Regions from separate parts of the Homo sapiens genome. Here region 2 is linked to region 1. Evidence: promoter capture Hi-C in 16 types of primary human blood cells and fetal thymus (Javierre and others, 2016). All regions are on one chromosome and are shown on one strand. The core of a region is centred on a gene start or on the middle of the fragment in contact, and the rest is flanking DNA. Distances in the headings are between cores, read along the strand shown. Region 1 holds the start of ARL6IP1 (ARL6 interacting reticulophagy regulator 1). Region 2 overlaps SMG1-DT (SMG1 divergent transcript).

Region 1 (6,267 bases), core at 1,071-3,570:
CTCAAACTCTGGACCTCAAGTGATCCACTCACCTCGTCTTCCCAAAGTGCTGGGATTACAGGTGTGAGCCACCAGGCCCAGCCTAAATATCCTTTAATGGTCACTTTTCTAGTCCAAGCACTGGGCTATTCTTTATATACATGATGTAACTTAATCCTTACAGAGAGCCACAAGGTAGGGATAATTAGACTCAATTTACAATTAAAGAAAGTGAGCTCAAAATGGTTTACTTTCTCAAAGTCATGCGGGGAATCGTGGCAGTGCCCAGAGTATTAATAAAATGAAATAACTTTTTTTAAGTTTGTTTATTTCAGATGGTTAGAATTGATCCGTTGTTTTTGTCATCTTATTGATTTAAACCCTTCTAAATCCATTAGGAAAGACTTTCCCTGAATAGCATTCAATTTCTAAAATAGCTCTTTGTGTAATGGAATCACTCAGATGTTGACATTCATTGGACAATTAAGGAAAACTACTTTCACCAAATTAAGGTGGCATTTTACGGTCAATATACCTCCTCAATACAGTGTTTCTTACCACTCAGGATGTCATTTTGATTATACTTCAAATTTCTCTGACTCTGAACAGCCGAAAGTGGGCCTCTAGGATGAGCTAATGTGGCAAAAGCCCTTAAAGCTGGTTTTGGTAAAGGAAGAAAAATTTAGAATAAGAAACTCAAGTGTCTCTATGTTATCAGGCTGGATGCAGTGGATCACGCCTGTAAACCCAGCACTTGGCGGGTCGGGGGGGATTGCTTGAGCCCAGGAGATCGGGACCAGCCTGGGCTGAGACCTTGTCTCTTTGTAAAAGTCATTCACTGGAAATCATGCAAATGACAGAACAAGGCACTTAATCTTAACAAAGACGCTCGCTATCTGTGCCACGCTGAGCACTAGTGTGATCTCAATATTTCTGACTTTATATTCCATGCTTAATACTAGTGAAAGAGACTACTATGTGTGGGCACTCTGCTGAGCATTCATATTTATACTTCAATTAATCTTCCTAACAACCCTTAAAAAAAGGTGTTATTACTGTCCCCATTTTACCAAGGAGGAAACAGATACAGAGGTTAACTGATCTGCATCCAAGAAATCCACGACCAAAGGCGTTGCTTTCCTTAGAGTTATATTGCTCTGCTGGAAGGAGAGTTGGGAAGCAGGAGCTCTAGCCCAGGATTTGTCATTTCAACAGGGCTTGAGCTACTTCTCTGTGCTTCAATTAATCCTCTTAAAAAGATCCACGCTGAGAACTAACTATGCTAGAAGGAGCGTGTGTTTAAAGGAACAAACCATGCATTTCTAAAAGCAAATATAAAATCACGCACAATCAAAACTGCCCTGAAGTCACGTCATTGGCCAGCGTCTGGGGTCTTGGAAGTTCAAAAGCCCCTAAGTAAATTCTTTGGTTCCGTTTTTCATTGCTGGTATGTGACCTACAGTCACCAGGGAAGGGCAACTGAGAATATGCAAGGATATTTCTCTTGTTTTTTGCCCACAAGGTGCGCTTAAATTCATAACAAATAAAAATGTGTCCGCCTATGATACCATCTCACTGCAGTTCCTTCGGATCCCTGCTTATTACTCTAAAGCTGTTTCCAGTAGTCCTGTGACCCCACCCCCGCCAGACTTCCAAATTCCAGACAAACGCCAAGACATCCCATTGTCTGTTCAGCTGGACCCCGCTCCCGGTTCCCCACGGTGAGCTCGCAGCCTCCCTGTCGTTTTAAGTTGTACCAGCTCTAAGATAAATTCTGGGCAGTAGCCCTTTGACCCTCCACCCTTGTCCAAGTTTTAGGGGGAAAAGAAGGCAGGCACATCCAGGTTAAGATCAAAGACGGGGAAAGCCGAATACGGCTGGGGCCTGAGCCGCGAAAGCGCTGGACAGGCCCCAGGAGGCCTTCTGCCCCCACCCGCACCCCAGGCTAGTGTCGCAGCCCCTCTGCCTCCCACTTCCTCCTCGACTCCTACTCGCGGTGATGAATCACGCGCCCTCCTCGCCCCGTCGCGCACCGTCCCCAGGAAAGGTAAGGGTTCGACACCCAGGAGTCACCCAAGAAGCCCGAGGGCCAGGCATCGTCGCCTGCCCAGGGAGAGAAGGGCCGGGCCCGCGGCGGGTGACAGGGACGAGGCCGCGGTGTTTGAGCCCACGGACGTCTGGAGGCCTCGCTCGGCTCCCGGGGGACAGGCAGCCAGGACTCACCAGCAGGTTGGTGCTGCGATTATCTCCCTCCGCCATCGTCTCGGGGATGCAGTCTCTACAAGCGCAGGCCACCTCCCCAACGAGTCCTCCAACCGAAACCCGCACACCAACCACAACCCGAGGGAACGCCCCGCAGGCTGCTTATATGGGTCGGCCGCCCTTCCCGACGGCCCCCGCGACGCTCGCTCCTCATTGGACAGACCGAGCTTACGCCTCAAGGAAGCCGGGCCAACCGAAGCTCAGCGCATGGCTTGAAATCGAGGTCAAAGGAGACAGAGGCAGCGCCGGGCCGAGGGGGAGGGGACACGGAGTGCCCAATCAGCGCCCAGGGACTGCGCGACGCCCCGCCCAGCGCTGTGGGAAGCGGTTCAACCGCCTCTGCAGGGGGCGCTGTCCCTCAGTGGTTCTCCGGCTCTTGCCGCTGCGGTGGCTTTGGGTCCCTCTTCGTCTGGCTTTCGCAGCCGAGGAGACTCTCTGGAAAATGGGCTACTCGAAGAGAGATGCTCCGTTGCCTCAGGCGGAGGGCGGGGACGCCGGGCCTGCGACACTTCATCTTTTCCTGGCCCCGAGGTGGCTGGGATCCGTTCCACCTTCGGCCCAGTTCCCCAGCCAGGCCCCTGAGCCGTTTAGCCCGGATTTGCGACCCGTGAGGTTTTGAGGACAAGTGAAAAGAGCTCTTTGTGTGGATTTTGCTGCAATGTTTCTCTCCTACCCAGTAGGAATGAGGCCTTAGCTTGCGCGGAAAAACCCAGGCCTGGTTTGAGAACGTGTGAAAATGCACCGCCTTCTAAGTGGCTTTATTATACGTGGATGTTTAAGTTACTTAAACTACAAGCTCCCTCTCCAAAAGGATTCTTTTTTTTTTTTTCTTTTTTTTTGAGACGGAGTCTCGCTATGTTGCCCAGCCTGGAGTGCAGTGGCGCGATCTTGCTCACTGCAAGCTCTGCCTCCCGGGTTCACGCCATTGTCCTGCCTCAGCCTTCCAAGTAGCTGGGACTACAGGCGTCCGCCAACACGCCTGGCTAATTTTTTGTATTTTTAGTAGAGACGTAGTTTCACCGTGTTAGGATGGTCTCGATCTCCTGACCTCGTGATCCGCCCGCCTCGGCCTCCCAAAGTGCTAGGATTACAGGCGTGAGCCACCGCGCCCGGCCAGAATTGTTTGTTTGTTTGTTTGAGACGAAGGAGTCTCGCGCTCCGTGGCCCCGGCTGAAGTGCAGTGGCGCGATCTCTGCTCACTGTAACCTCCATCTCCCGGGTTCAAGTGATCCTGGCGCGTCAGCCTCCCGAGTAGCTGGAATTACAGACGCCCGTCACTACGCCCGGCTAATTTTTGTATTTTAATAGAGACGGGGTTTCGCTATTTTGGCCAGGGTGGTCTGGACCTCCTGACCTCAAGATATCCGCCCGCCTTAGCCTGCCAAAGTGCTGGGATTACAGGCGTGAGCTACCGCGCCCGGCCAAAAGGATAGTTCTTGACACGACCTTTCTTCCATTAGAGGTCAAGCTAAGAAAATATGTAAACCCTCTCACAAGCAGTAGAATTCCTAGGCAGTTTAGGAACTGTGTTGAGGCACTTGTACATCTTTTCTATCCAGGATTTCAAATGCAGTAACAAGTGCTTTGATCTTTTTTTTTTTTTTTTTTTTTTTTTTTTCTTTTTTTCTTGAGACACAGCCTGGCTCTGTTGCCCAGGCTGTAGTGCAGTAGCCACCGCGCCCGGCCGATTTTTCATCGTTTGATACAAACAGAATCATGCCAAATGTCCGGATCAGATGTTTGTTTCAGGTGAATTAACTATAGTTTTAACTTCCAACCTTTTATCTTTTTTACAGGTTTTAACTTCCAATCTCATGGTCATTTGTATTCGGCCATTGAATTTAAATTTATTTTTAAAATGTTCCTTAAGTAACCACCAGGTTCTTAAATGTTCAAGGAAGTCATAAATGTGAGAGAACATAGCTGCAGACCACATACTGCCCCTAAGAGAGCTGGGCAAGGGCAGGAGCATTGTGAATTTCATGGAAGGGTGTCAATTTGCTGTGGGTCTTTCGGGGAAAGGGGAGTGAAGTATCTGAATCAGGGAGAAGCACTTGAAAAAAAGTCTTTGCAAGGGAAGCTGACTGTTCAATAAAGTGCCACTTTGGAGAATGTTGGGGTAAAGAAGTTGTAAAGGCAGGATACAGCCAGTTGACAGAGACGCTATTTGGAGAGATTTTAAAGCTATGGAGTCTGAGGAGCAGGTTCTTCTCCACGCCCCTAAAAAAAAAAAAATACAAATGGGGAGGCAGGGAAGATCCCTTGAGCCCAGGAAATAGAGGCTGCAGTGAGCTATGATTGCACCTATGCACTTAAGCTTGGGTGACAGAGCAAAAAACCTGTCTCAAAAAAAAAAAAAAAAAAAAAAGTCAAAAAGATCGAAGCAATCAGCAGCCACATAATTAGTGAATATGTTGAGCACTGGGTATGTGATCTTGCTAGACCCACAGTAATAGCCACTTCCAAAAGAGAGGGTATTTTATTAGGGTTTAAAACTGACATTTCTACTTTTGGGAAATCAGCTTTTGCTGCAGAATATGCTTCTTGTTTTCACCCAAGTTTTCCATGCACAACTTAAGACTTGTTAACACCAGCTTGTGAAATGAAGGTAGGTGAAAAAAACAGAAGCAACTGAAACAGCAGTTTCTCCACTTAGTATTTTTTGTTACTTAACAATGTATTCCCATACCTATTTCTAAATGCACAGCCCTGCTATATGGTCTCTCACTAAATTTCCGATTGGTCTAATTATTAAAAAACACCCACCCTTAACATAGCTTTCTTTAGAGCTTTGTTTTTGTCCTACAGAGACAGGATGTGATCTTTTGAAATGTGCCAGATGACTAAGCAGTTAACACAAATCTTACTAACTTCATTTAGCAGCAACAAATGCAATCTCCAAGATATAAAGCCAAGCTGGACATTTTCTATTTTTTTTCAGAGGTTTCACACTCCAAGGAATGCACCTATCTGTCAATAATGATCTACGGGAATTTTGTTTTTAAATACTGCCAAAATTAAGCTTTATAAATTGGGCCTTAACACAAAGAATTTTATCGTTGAAGTAGAATTTCTACTGCTATTCAAAAATACAACAGATGTTTGAGAATAAAATAGTTACTTTTCTGAGAATTTAGGGGTCTTTTTTGAGGTATTAGTGCTATTCAGAAAAAAAAGACTAGGCTTGGCTCGGCTTAGTGGCTCAGGCTTGTAATCCCAGCACTTTGGGAGGCTGAAGTGGGAGTGTAACTTGAGCCCAGGAGTTCGAGATCAGCCTGGGCAACATAGGGAGACCCTGTCGTTTTGTTTTTTCAAGCTACCCAGGTTCCAAAAGGTTTCAAGTTTTCCAAAATCTATTTTGACCAATAAATTCAGAACTTAAATGCTGTATCTTTTGAGACTGAACCTTTATTTTCTGAAAAACAGGTATTTCATACAATCTTTGCCATGTTAATGCAAATATGCACAAAGTAGGCATGTATTTGTTTTCCAAAAGATGCATTATGAACATTTTCAGGAAGCTGGTGTGATTTATTCAACTTTTAAATACAATCACAAAATTATATCCATCAGGAGGCATTACAACCTTTTGTACAGAAAAGCCACTATTTATACATTGTTACTAAGACAAGGAAGATTCAGTTCAACTCAACTTGCTCTTAGAATAAGGGTAAAAAGTAAATTAACAAGTAAGTGAAGTATGATGTTGTTGCCACTGACATTACAGGTGGAAATATAAGGGAAATTTAAACCAGAAAAATGACACAATAACTTTAAAGAGGAGCTGAAACTTTGTCAAAAAAAGAAAAAACTATTAGCCTGTTTTCAAAGAAAAACATTCTAAAAGTGTGCATTTCAGAACATAGAATTCTTCTAAGTTTACCATCTTCAAAAATCTTCTAAATTGTATGACACTTTTACATTAGCACAACAAACAGCTTTTTCTAAGTCTAGCCAAGTTCCCATGGAAGGCAAACGACCCTAAGTAGTTCATATTTTACAGCCCTTGAACTTATAAAGCTTTTC
Region 2 (6,724 bases), core at 344-2,843, 140 kb after region 1:
ATGTTGCCCAGGCTGGTCTCAAACTCCTGGGCTCAAGCGAGTCTACTCCTTCAGATTCACAAAGTGTTGGGATTACAAGGCATGAGCCACCACACCCAGTCTGTGAGGGTATTTTTGGATGAGATTAACTTTTATTTATTTATTTGTTTGTTTTTTAAACAGAGTCTCCCTCTGTTGCCCAGGCTGGAGTGCAGTGGCATGATCTCGGCTCACTGCAACCTCCGCCTCCCGGGTTCAAATAATTCTCCTGCCTCAGCCTCCAGAGTAGCTGGGATTACAGGTGCACACCACCATGCCTGGCTAATTTTTGTATTTTCAATAGAGATGGGGTTTCACCATATTGGCCAGGCTGGTCTGAAACTCATCTCACGTGATCTGCCCACCTCAGCCTCCCAAATTGCTGGGATTACAGGCGTGAGCCACCGCACCTGGCCAATTTTTGTGTTTTTTATAGAGATGGGGTTTTGCTATATTGGCTAGGTTAGTCTCAAACTCCTGACCTCAAGTGATCCTCCTGCCTTGGCCTCCCAAAGCACCCATGTGTGCCACCACACCCGGCCCATAGTAATTCTTCAAACATCGACCAACTGGTGGTTCTTGGCTGCTGAGAAGCCAGACCGGACAATGTGTGTGCACCTGCTATTCTCCATTGGTCCCTGCAAATCTATTCTCCATCTTTCTCCATTCAGCTCTGCAACCCAGAGAGTGACCTGCATGGAGCGTGCCAGCTGAATCCCTTGTCCTGTGTCTTCTGGCTGAGTTCTACCATAGGAAACACCGCCACGTGGGAGAACAGGAAGACATTGATGTCTGGGTGCTTATTCCTAAAGCTTCCTCCCTGAGGTCACCTGGAGGTTGCTGCATCTCTCTACTGAAGGCCACAGTTCCTGTCATATGACTGTCTCCATCCAGCTGCCTTCTCTAAGTTCCAGCAACCACTGTCTCTCTCCCTTGATCTTTGAGCCTAAAGGTAATGCAGGCTCCCTGATGTTGCTAGCCCTAGGATACTGCAGCATTCTTTGTTAGTTTACTAAAACCCTCTGTAAATAACCCTTTGCTACACTTTCATCATCTTTCTTTCTTTCTTTTTTAGAGACAAGGTCTCCCTCTGTCACCCAGGCTAGGGTGCAGTGGCACAATCACGGCTCAGGACCGGTGCAAGAAGGGAAGGTTGCATTCATAAGTTAGCAAACTTCAGAAAGCTCTTTGAAAAAAAAAAAAAAAAAAGAATCTTATTACCATTTTGTTTTTGTAGAAAGCCCACTTGATAAAAGTATTAATAACACACATGAGAAAGAGCTCACAGTGTTTTCCAGAAAAAAACACTTTGATTCTATAAAAGAGGTCAGTAGACTACAATATGAAGAATCCTTCTGTTGGCTTAACTTTTAGACTATATGACAAGTTCTCTGACTATAAAGACACTGATCAAAAGAACTCAGTTTAGCACAATATCCAAAGTCCAAAGTACAAGCAATAAAAGAAGAATCAGGTAAATTAGACTACATCAAAATGTTAAACTTTTTGCCTCAAAGGACACCATCAACAGGGTGAAAAGACAAAGCATGGAATGGGAGAAAATATTTGCAAATCATATATTTGATAAAGGGTTAATATCTAGAATATATAAAGAGCTCCTACAACTCAACAACAACAACAAAAAAAAACCCAAAAATACAAACAAACAAAACCAACTCTTTTTACTTAAAAAAAGGGGCGGAAGTTTTTTGTTTGTTTTGTTTTTGTTTTGTTTTGAGACAGGGTTTCACTCTGTCGCCAAGGAGTGCAGTGGCACCATCTCAGCTCACTGAAACCTCCACCTCCTGGGTTCAAACGAAAATATTTCTTTTCGTTTCTGTTTTTGTTGTTGTTGTTGTTGTTGTTGTTATTGTTGTTGTTTTTGAGGCAGAGTTTCAGTCTTTTGCCCAGACTGGAGTGAAGTGGCGGGCGCAATCTCGGCTCACTGCAACCTCCACCCCCCTGGGTTCAAGCGATTCTCCTGCCTCAGCCTCCCGAGTAGCTGGGATTACAGGCACCCGCCACCACGCCCAGCTAATTTTTGTTATTTTTAGTAGAGACAGGGTTTTGCCATGTTGGCCAGGCTGGTCTCAAACTACTGACTTCAGGTGGTCCACTCGCCTCACCCTCCCAAAGTGCTGGGATTACAGGCGTGAGCCACGGCGCCCGGGCAACTTTGTCCATTTTCGCCAGGAAGGCTGAAAGAGTTCTGAGGTGCTGCTTGATGCTGTAGTAAATCTCTTCTCTGTTTCTGTTTGGATGAAAGGAGTATATCTATATTCATGGCGCACTTAGAAAATGTAATTTTCTCTTACAGGTAAACAAATGATGGAGGAGGGAAGCTTAAGGGACAGGAGATTATGTAGGTGATAGTTTCTGGGCCACTTCCTGTTTTAAGTACCTTTTTTATTCCCCGCTTTCCAATTTGTAAAACATTGATGTGCTCACTGACATTGGACAGGGCACTTAATCTCCCAAAACCTTCATTTGCTCATCTGCAAACTCAAGGGTTTGAGTTAGACCGTGGCTTAGTGGTTTTCCAACTTCATTTTATTTTATTGAGACAGGGTCTCACTCCATCGGCCAGGCTGGAGTGCAATGGTGCGATCTCGTCTCGCTGCAACCTCTGCCCTCTGGGTTCAAGTGATTCTCCTGCTTCAGCCTCCTGAGTAGCTGGGATTACAGCACCCGCCACCACGCCCAGCTAATTTTTTTTGTTGTTGTTTTTTGAGATGGAGTTTTGCTCTTGTTGCCCAGGCTGTAGTGCAATGGCGCGATCTCAGCTCACCGCAACCTCCACCTCCTGCCTCAAGCAATTCTCCTGCCTCAGCCTCCGGAGTAGTTGGGATTACAGGCATGTGCCACCACATCCAGCTAGTTTTGTGTTTTTAGTAGACACGGGGTTTCTCCATGTTGGTCAGGCTGGTCTCCAACTCCCGACCTCGGGTGATCCCCTCGCCTTGGCCTCCCAAAGTGCTGGAATTACAAGACTGAGCCACCGCCCAGGGCCAAACCCAGGCATTTCTGACTCCAGTTGTGCCCTCATGTCTTAAGATGTAAAATCTTCCCGGAGGTAGCACCAGAAAGTTCAGGATGCAGAGATAGCGTGGGGCCTCATGATCTTTTAAAAAATATATTGAGCATTTATTACATGCTGCACCCCGCACTTTAAATGACCTGCAAGTTTATTATTATTATTTATTTATTTATTTACTTTTTTGAGACAGAGTCTCGTTCTGTCGCCCAGGCTGGAGTGCAATGGCGCGATCTTGGCTCACTGCAAGCTCCGCCTCCCGGGTTCATGCCATTATCCTGCCTCAGCCTCCCAAGTAGTCGGGACTACAGGTGCCCGCCACCACGCCAGGCTAATTTTTTGTAGTTTTCAGTAGAGACGGGGTTTCACCGTGTTAGCCAGGTTGGTCTTAATCTCCTGACCTCGTGATCCGCCTGCCTCAGCCTCCCGAAGTGCTGGGATTACAGGCGTGAGTCACCGTGCCCGGCCCTCCTGCAACTTTAAATGACCATAAGGATGATTCATCTATCACCTGCTACCATCAGATAACTGATGGCAATAAATACCTGAGTTTGAAGATATAAATTTGAAAAGAGAGGAAATACTACTTGATTCCTAGGATCAATACTACCCTCCCCACCATTTTCAAAAATAATCTCATTCTGTGGTCTAAGAAAAATAAATAAATTATAAAATAAATCATTAACACTAATCTTTGAAACAGTATTTCCCAAATTATGTTTCTTAGAACATAGCCCCTCGAGGTATGAAAATGGGACTGGGTGTGGTGGTGCATGCCTGTAATCCCAGCACTTTGGGAGCCCAAGGTGGGAGGATAGCTTGAGCCCAGGAGTTTCAGACTAGCCTGAGCAACACAGCAAGACCTCCATAACTCCCCGCCCCTCCCCCTCAAAAGAATTAGCTGGGTGTGGTGATGAACATCTGTAGTCCCAGCTACTTGGGAGGCTGAGGTGGGAGGATCACTTGAGCCCAGGGAGTCAAGGCTGCAGTGGGCTGTGATTGCGCCACTGCACTCCAGCCTGGACAGCAGAGGGAGACTCTCTCTCAAAAAAAAAGAAAAAGAAAAAAATATATAATTTGAGCCACATATGTAATTCTAAACTTTCTAGTAGTCATATTTGAGGAAATTAAAAACAGGTGAAATTCATTTTAACAATATATTTTATCCAAAATATTATCACTTCATGTAATCAATATACAATTATTAATGAGATATTTTGCATTCTGTTTTTGATAAGCCTTGAAAGCCAGTGTGTATTTTACTTACAGCATATTTCAATACAAAGTAGCCACATTTTAAGTGCTCAGTAGCTATAAGTGCTTAGTGGCTACCATATTGGTTTCTGTTAGTCTAAAACTACCACTCTTGTTTATATGTTCTTTCTTCTAAAGAGTTTATTTTTATTTATTTATTTATTTAATTTGTGAGATGGAGTTTTGCTCTTGTGACCCAGGCTGGAGTGCAATGGCACAATCTCAGCTCACTGCAAGCTCTGCCTCCCAGGTTCAAGCAGTTCTCCTCCCTCAGCCTCCCCATTAGCTAGGATTACAGGCACCCACCACCATGCCCAGCTAATTTTTGTATTTTTAGTAGATACGGGATTTCCTCACGTTGGCCAGGCTGGTCTCAAACTCCTGACCTCAGGTGATCCACTCACCTTGGCCTCCCAAAGGAATGGGATTACAGGCATGAGCCACCGCTCCCAGCTGCTTCTAAAGAAGACCTCCCCTGAGGTCAGGAATTCGAGACCAGCCTGGCCAACATGGCGAAACCCCATCTCTACTAAAAAAATACAAAAATTGGCCGGGCGCGGGTGCTCACACCTGTAATCCTATCACTTTGGGAGGCCGAGGCGGGCAGATCACAAGGTCAGGAGATCGAGACCATTCTGGCTAACATGGTGAAACCCCATCTCTAAAAAAAAAACAAATATAGCCGGGCATGGTGGTGGGCGCCTGTAGTCCCAGCTACTTGGGAGGCTGAGGCAGGAGAATGACGTAAACCCGGGAGGCAGAGCTTGCAGTGAGCCGAGATCGCGCCACTGCACTCCAGCCTGGGTGACAGAGCAAGACTCCGTCTCAAAAAAAAAAAAAAAATTCAAAAATTAGCTGGGTGTGGTGGCAGGCACCAGTAATCCCAGCTACTTGGGAGGCTGAGGCAGGAGAATCGCTTGAGCTCGGGAGGCGGAGGTTGCAGTGAGTCGAGATTGTGCCACTGCACCCCAGCCCGGGCAACAGAGCTAGACTCCATCTCAAAAAAAAAAAAAAAAGAAAAGAAAAGAAAAGAAAGCTATTTCCCAAGTTTTGATGTGAGTAACCAGTGTGTTGGTGCCATTTACTGAGATAAGAAAGGCCTGGACAGAGGCAAATTGGAGTCAAGAGTTCTGTTTTGACCATGTTAAATCTGAGATGTGCATGAGATTGCCAAGTGCACATGTCAAGCCAGGAGTAGGGTCTATAAACATGTGGCCTAAATAGGCAAATTTGAGAATCATTGGCCTGAAGATGATACTTTAAGGATATGTGTGGAAACAATGTTACAGAAAATTGGCTCAAGGAAAAGGAAAGTTATACATTTTTAAGTGCAATTAAACAAATTTAAAAACCTAGACTCATCCCTCTTAAAGGCCCTTAAACATCCCTAGAAGCCTCCTTCAGAATCTTGAAGTGTGAACTCTTGTTCTTGGTCTTCTAATTAATCCTGCCTTAGAGTCTCAAGGGCCATTCACAAGCAAGAAGCCTTTTATCATCTCTTGTAAAAAAGAACCTGCAAGAGCTGCTTCTCCTGCTGTATTTCCATTATATCAGTGCTGTTTTCTGAGTTTTTTTTTAATTGCAGTTGTGCAATATTTAAGTCACCTTATAGTTTAAATAAGTGTTTCCAGATTTGCCTTGGGAAATAAGCAGTTGATGCTGTCTCTGTGGGAAAAAAGCTCTGAGGTATACACTTTTGGAACACAACCTGCTGCCTACAAGTTAGGAATTGCCACGTTTGGTTTTAATAAGACCCCACCCTTAACTCCAAGGAGTTTATAATGTAATAATAAACATAGTAACACCAGGGCTGGGTGTGGTGGCTCATGCCTGTAATCCCCACACTTTGGGAGGGTGAAGCAAGAGGATCACTTAAAGCCAGGAGTTCAATACCACCCTGGGCAACATAGTGAGACCCTATGTCTGCAAAACAATAAAAACAATAAATTAATTGAGCATGGTGGCACTCACCTATAGTCCCAGCTACTTGGGAGACTGAGGCAAAAGAATCATTTGAGCCCAAGAGTTCAAGGCTGCAGTAAGCTGTGATTGTGCCACTGCACTCCAGCCTGGGCAACAGAGCAAAGGCAGAAACACTAAATATTATAGCATCGATTGAGCATTGCTATGGTCTGAAAGTGTTCCCCACAGATTTCTTTCTTTCTTTCTTTCTTTCTTTCTTTCTTTCTTTCTTTCTTTCTTTCTTTCTTTCTTTCTTTCTCTTTCCTTTTTCTTCTTTCTTTCTTTCTTTCTTTCTTTCTTTCTTTCTTTCTTTCTTTCTTTCTTTCTTTCTTTCTCTCTGTGTCCCTCTTTCTTTCTTTCTCCCTCTCTCTTTCTTTCTTTCTCCCTTCCTTCCTTCCTTCCTTCCTTCCTTTTTTTTTTTTTTTTGAGACAGAGGCTCGCTCTGTCGCCCAGGCT

The links. Contacts are between HindIII fragments. The CHiCAGO score rates a contact against its expected background, and 5 or more counts as called.
Region 2: a contact is called between a fragment that was not itself captured here and the fragment with the promoter of ARL6IP1 in region 1, in 13 of 17 cell types (neutrophils, fetal thymus, activated CD4 T cells and 10 more). The highest score is 12.0, in neutrophils.

What each region holds. Positions count from the first base shown.
Region 1 is chr16:18,799,229-18,805,495 of GRCh38, forward strand. ARL6IP1 (ARL6 interacting reticulophagy regulator 1) reads right to left here and starts at 2,321. Exons shown (of 6, transcript NM_015161.3): 1 at 2,203-2,321. The coding sequence starts at 2,238. SMG1 (SMG1 nonsense mediated mRNA decay associated PI3K related kinase) reads right to left here. Exons shown (of 63, transcript NM_015092.5): 63 at 5,632-6,267. RefSeq lists enhancers at 1,825-1,944, 2,165-2,244, 2,625-2,864. The HindIII fragment of the contact is 8,806 bases long and covers 1-4,556 here.
Region 2 is chr16:18,936,167-18,942,890 of GRCh38, forward strand. SMG1-DT (SMG1 divergent transcript) reads left to right here. Exons shown (of 2, transcript XR_001752094.2): 2 at 690-1,050. Among named protein-coding and RNA genes, the nearest start is that of SMG1, 13 kb to the left of the region's middle. The HindIII fragment of the contact is 1,530 bases long and covers 829-2,358 here.